Regions from separate parts of the Homo sapiens genome. Here region 2 is linked to region 1. The links are contacts of gene promoters, found by promoter capture Hi-C in blood cells and fetal thymus (Javierre and others, 2016). All regions are on one chromosome and are shown on one strand. Each heading gives the region's core, a stretch centred on a gene start or on the middle of the fragment in contact. The rest is flanking DNA. Distances are from core to core; before and after follow the strand shown.

What was found. The method cuts DNA at HindIII sites, captures the fragments that hold promoters and counts their contacts. A CHiCAGO score of 5 or more calls a contact.
Region 2: a contact is called between a fragment that was not itself captured here and the fragment with the promoter of AP1M1 in region 1, in 1 of 17 cell types (fetal thymus). The highest score is 5.1, in fetal thymus.

Annotation. Positions count from the first base shown.
Region 1 is chr19:16,196,241-16,199,325 of GRCh38, reverse strand. AP1M1 (adaptor related protein complex 1 subunit mu 1) reads right to left here and starts at 1,415. Exons shown (of 12, transcript NM_032493.4): 1 at 1,258-1,415. The coding sequence starts at 1,299. RefSeq lists a silencer at 1,032-1,271. The HindIII fragment of the contact is 4,202 bases long and covers 1-2,816 here.
Region 2 is chr19:15,622,483-15,625,567 of GRCh38, reverse strand. CYP4F8 (cytochrome P450 family 4 subfamily F member 8) reads right to left here. Exons shown (of 13, transcript NM_007253.4): 7 at 2,193-2,463; 8 at 1,803-1,869; 9 at 1,474-1,603. Among named protein-coding and RNA genes, the nearest start is that of CYP4F8, 8.8 kb to the right of the region's middle. The HindIII fragment of the contact is 786 bases long and covers 1,246-2,031 here.

The DNA.
Region 1 (3,085 bases), core at 166-2,665:
GATGCCTGGGTTCTAGTTTATGTCCAGCTCCCTGGTGTCTCTGGTCCATTTGTCACCCCTCCTCAGGGAAACCCTCTCTCATCCTCGGGCTGAGGCTGACTGTCTGTATAACACACTCGCCCCTCAACACCACTGCAATTGACATTTATTTGTGTTTTTGGAGATGGGTATCCATCTCCCCTACCAGCCTGTGAACACCGTAAGAACACAGATTGTTGAGCCCTGGCACATGACTCACACCTGTAATCCCAGCACTTTGGGAGGCTAAGACAGGTGGATCACTCGAGGTCAAGAGTTCGAGACCAGCCTGGTCAACATGGTGAAACCCTGCCTCTACTAAAAATACAAAATTTAGCTCGGCGTAGTGGCAGGTGCCTGTAATCCCAGCTACTTGGGAGGCTGAGGCAGGAAAATTGCTTGAACCCGGGAGGCGGAGGTTGCAGTGAGTGGAGATTGCACCACTACACTCCAGACTGGACGACTGAGCATGACACTATCTCAAAAACAAAACAAAAAAAAAGGGACTGTTTTTTGCTAAACACAAATCGACCCCAGGCTTAGTACCCTGCCCGGCATTAGTAGGTGCTCCCCAGATATCAGCTGAATAAACGAATGATTCTGGATCGGACTCCTAGACTTGCTACTTCTCTGTGACCATTGTGACCTTGGTCAGGTTGCTTCACCTCTCCATGCCTCAGTTTCTCCCTCTATAAAACGGCACTCGTGATCACCACTCACCTCACCTAATCCTTGTAACTCACTATCACAATGAACGTGGAGAAATTCCTACTGAGAGAAAGTGCACGATAAACAGAAGCTGTAACGCCCTGAGAAGGCGGGACTGGCTCGAGAGCACCCAGTCCCCGCCACGCCTCGCCACCCCCGGCCAAGGGTCGCGCAGCCCCTGGACGCCCTGCCTGGCTCCGAGGCCGGCTGCGGCCCCGCTTCTGGGTCCTCCACCGAGGCCCGAGCCCCCGGCCCCGGCGCCGGGGAGCAGAGGGCGGTGCAGTCAGTTACCTGGCAACGCGGTGGCTGCAGCCCACCGCGTTACGTAGCAACAGGGCGGGGATTACCCACTTAAGACCCCCGCCCGGTTACCCAGAAACAGGATGGGGCTCTCAGGTGAGGTCTACCGGCCTCTCTGCCTCACACCAGGATGGGGCTCATAAGCCGGTTACCTAGCAACAGGGTGGGTCCCCGCGGGCGGAGGCCCCTGCCGGTTGCCTGGCAACAGGGAGGGTGGGGAGCCCTCAGTACCTTGCCCTTCAGGTCCAGCACGTAGACGGCGCTGGCGGACATGATGGCTGCAGGAGGCCTCGGCAGCGGCCGAGGGCGGTGGCGGCGGCAGCGACGGTGGGGACTGCTGGGCGTTGAGCAAGGCCGGGCGCCGCCCGCGACAGCTCACCTCCACTTCCGGTTCGGGGAGCCGCGCGGGGACCGTTATGTCCGGTCCGGGAGGTGCTGTCAGGAATGCGCAGGCGCAGGACGGACTGTGCGCAGGCGCATTACGTCGTATGTAACCATGTTTCTTGCTCCCGCCAGAAGCATCCCGGAAGTAAGGCCCGGTGGGGCGGGGCCGACCAAATCAGGGCACCCAGTGGCCGCTGCCAGGCTGAGCTATGGAGCCAGAGCAGCTGGAAACGGCCTCCCGTGGGCCGAGTTAGGCGAGAGAGCCTGGTGGTGAAACCGACCTGGGGCCCAGCCCTATGGAGCTCACAGTCTGGTGGGGAAGTCTATGAAACAAGTGTACAGTCACCAATTGTGATAAGCTCAAAAGAGAGAGGTAAGGTCGTGGTTACTTGGAAAGAGGTCAAACAAACTTTCTGAATGGCAATCAAACCTTATCAACAGTCACCACCTGTCATTGTCAACATTTATCAATGAATGAGTGTGCCTGTTTATTGCCTGGAATGTTATGAAAACCAGCCTCACTGAACCTTGACCCAACATACCGTGTTTCATTTCTGCAAAGTTAGTAATCAGTAATGCAACTGGTGGCCCTTGATTAATCCATTGAGTCATATTTAATTTGCTTTTATGAACTCTTGGGCTTTGGAGAAATGCCTGCATTCTGTTCCAGTTAGCCATCATAGTACCCTGGGGATCCCAACCCTGCAATACCAGAGTGATTTACCCAGGATGCCTGCCTCTCACATCTTTTATTTTCTGTCTTATCTCCGTTTTGGCGTTTGGAAAGATGATTTTTGCAACTCGGTAATTATATAGTGTTTTGCTTAGGAAAGAAATGTGACCGAAACTCTAGAGAAGCAAACTAGAATGTTTGAAGACTGCTAAGTGACTCCTGGGCTGGAAGGATTCTTGCTCAAGGCACAGAGCAAGCAGCCAAGAGAGGGTTTTTGTTGTTTGCTTTTTTTTTTTTTTTTTTTTTTGAGATGGAGTCTCACTCTGTCACCCAGGCTGGAGTGCAATGGCATGATCTCGGCTCACTGCAACCTCTGCCTCCTGGGTTCAAGTGATTCTCTTGTGTGTCAGCCTCTCAAGTGGCTGGGATTACAGGCATGTGCCACCACACCTAGCTAATTTTTGTATTTTTAGTAGAGACGTGGTTTCACCATGTTGGCCAGGCTTGTCTCAAACTCCTGACCTCACGTGATCCACCCACCTCGGCCTCCCAAAGTGCTGGGATTACAAGGGTTAAGTTAAATATTAAAAGATAAGAGAGCCAGTGCCCTTATACAAAGGCTGGGATGTAACAAAAGCCCACCCAGAGTTGTGCCTAGGCCTTTCCTGGGCCTTGAAGCATGACAAGATAATGAAGGAATTCTTAACAGGACCCTTTTAGGATTAAACAAGCTTTATTGGCGGTCTGAAGAAACTCCTCAGGCCTCCACAAACAAGTTTATTGGGGTTTGAAGGAACTCCCCCAAACCTCCATGATTTAGCAGGAGATAAGATAAGGGTAATCACCCCAGCACCTGGACCCACTTAGATTAAGTAAATTTACTGAGGCTCCAGAGGAAGGTCTTCAGGACTCAGATCTTAGTTATGGGTTAAAAGACTATAACTTACTTACGTCTTTAGATGAATGCACACCTACACGTAGACATATAGCTTAGAAGGTATA
Region 2 (3,085 bases), core at 389-2,888, 570 kb after region 1:
ACTTCATGCTGCTCATGTAGGACTACATAATAAATGGAACAAAATGAAGGCAACAAATAAAACCATATATATACATACATGCCTAAGATAGGCATATATATATATGGTTTTATTTGTTGCCTTAAAATACATATATATATAGTGTATACACTATATATAGTATGTGTGTGTGTATATATATATACACAAACACTATATATATATACACTATATATATACACTATATATATATATATACACACACATAGTTTCTTGTGAATTTGTTGTTATTTAGAATCATGACACAAGGACAAAATATTCATTAAACTTGGTTGGGACAATTAGACATTTGGAGAAAAAATAGATTCCAACATAGATTTCAAAGGGAAAAATTTCTAAATGTGAAAAATATTGATAAAATGTTAAACTTTTAAAAATATATAAGCCTATTAAAATAAGTCAAACAAGAGTTTTGCATTTTACTATTAGAGTATAAAATGGTTTTTAAATATTTTTTTAAGAAACACAAACAGGAATTATAAAAGAAAAAATTAATAAATTTGGTGACAAATAAATGAACCAAAAATAAAAATAAAGTCCAAGACAATGCGAGGCAACATTTTGCATAACAGAAAAAAGAAATAATTTTCTTAATATGTAAAGAGTTTTTATAAGTAAATAAGAAAACTAGTACGACCCAAAGTAGAAAAAACAAATTACGCAAAAACTGACTTCACAGAAAAATAGATATGGATGGCTCATCGGCAGGTGAAAACAGTGCTCAACTTTACCCACATTTAAAGTTATGTTCATTAAAATAACAAAATATTATATTGCATCTATCAGATTGGCAAATGTTTTAGTTTCATAATAGGCACTTCTGGGGAGGTTATGAGGAAATTTGGTATTCTCAAAATCTGTGTATAGCAGTAGATTTCCCAAGAGCTATTGAATTGTAAAACTCAAATGGTCTTTGGCTCAGCAGTTGCACTTCTAGGAATCTGCTCTACAAAGATGACATGTCAGCAATGATCATCGTACACCGATATTCAACACATCATGTCTTTTATACCAAAAGGCTGGAAAGTATAAAAACACGCGTTGATAAGAGAATGTTTTGATAAATCATAATATTAGATTGGTCCAAAAGTCATTGCGGTATTTGCCGTTAATTCTCCAAGCAGCCCTGTGGGACAGCAATTCCCCACACCCCCAATTTACAAAGGAGAAAAGTTGTTCAGAAAAGGGAATTGATTTTACTAAGCTTGCATAGCAAGTTAGTGGGGAAATAAATATGGACTCCCAGACCATTCTGTCCCCAAAGCATGCAATGTTACCCTTGCTAGCCTGTTTCTGGGCTCTACTCCTATTCCCACTAGGCAACAATGGCAGAATCATCAAAAAGATCCTCCCCTTTTCCCCCACCTGGGGAGAAGAACCAACGAGAAGGACTCAGAAAGGCAGAAAGGCAGAGCCACCAGCACCTGCACTCACCATTCAATCTCTTTAGGCTCACGGTCCTTCAGAAGCTCTTGCACCTCCTGCCGGCAGCGTTCTTGGTATTCTGGGTGCCTCGCGAGGTTGTACAAGACCCAGGAGAGGCCACTGGCCGTGGTGTCATGGCCTGAGGGTCAGCCAGGCAGGCTTGAGTCTCTGGGCTGCTTCAGCACCCAGAGGGTGGACAGCGCCCATACATTGAGGCTCTCAGGAAGGTTGAGGGGAGGGGGAGGTTGGGCAGAATGAAGTGATTCAGGGCCGGCCCTCCACTTCCCTGGAGTGGAGAGACCCCTGTCCCCACTGTAGCCCCAGACTGGGACACTCACCTCCAAACATGAAAGTGTCAGCTTCTGCTCTTATGTCCTCATCTGACAACTCTTTACCATTTTTATCCTGGAGACAAGAACCCCAATCACACTAGTTCTGGGGTCACTGGAGTCTAAACTGAAACAGTCTCTGAAGACCCATTATCCCAGAAGGATCCCTCCCTTGTCACCTCCAGATCTACCCCCACATGCTTCCTTCCGACCTCCTGTTTGTTCTTCCCAGGAAGCTTTCTATGCAATCACCTCTAAAATTTATCTGACTTGTCCCTCCCTTCTTCGAGCACCTTCCATGGCTCCTTAGTGCCCTCTGTATCAAGTCCGGTCCTTCAATCTGACATTTGACCTGAAGCTCCATTTTACCTCTTGAATTCAGATCCCAGAGAGGCCCACCTCGCTCAGCAGGAGCACATCAATAAAGTCCAAAGTCTTGGACTTGGCCTTGGCTTGGAGGAAGTCATCAACACCCTGGCTAGTGAGGGTGCGGCGCCGCTCCTGGATGACGGCATCTGTGAAGTCGTGCACCAGTCTGCAGGCCCTGTGGAAGCGCCGTCCACAGGGAGTGAGGAAGTACAGGAAGTCCTTGTACCGGAAGAACTGGTTATTCCGTTTCACTACAAGGGCACTGAGCTCCATGATCGCAGTAATATATTCACTGGGCTTCCTGCAGGGCCAGTCCAGAGAGAGGAAGCAGCTCCTTACCCACATGAAAGCCTGGGAGCACCTTCCAGCCAGAATCCCAGGACCACATTCCATGCAGAAAGGGGTGTCCTGCAAGCGCACTTCACTCTCTGCCTCCCACTCTCTGTGAGCTGCCTCCTGCCCCAGGTCCCCAGGGCACAGCTTGGCCATCATGGGCATCTCCTCTCTCTGTCTTATAAAACATCTGCTCCTGCCTATTATTACTCAGTTTCTCCCAAATCTGCCCCATTTTCTCCACCAAACTCAGACCTCCTCTCCCTGGCATCCTTGCATGCTGTGTCTACATGACAGTCAATCTTCCATAGAGTCCCATAGAGTCCAGTGTCCAAGCTCAGTACTGACCATGTCTCTCATCTGCTCAAACACCTCCATGGCTCCTTAGGAACCTTGGATAAAATGCATCTCCCTTTGTCTGACTTTTCAAGATCCTTAAGATCTAGTTAACTGCCAACCCCTCCACCTTCATTTCCAAGTGTCTCCCAACTGCCTGTTGCACATGCTCTGTTCATCTTAGCCTCCTTGCCTTGACCCAAACAGTTCCACTTGTTTGGAGGAAACTTCTCTTTCTCTCGCTCTCTCTCTCT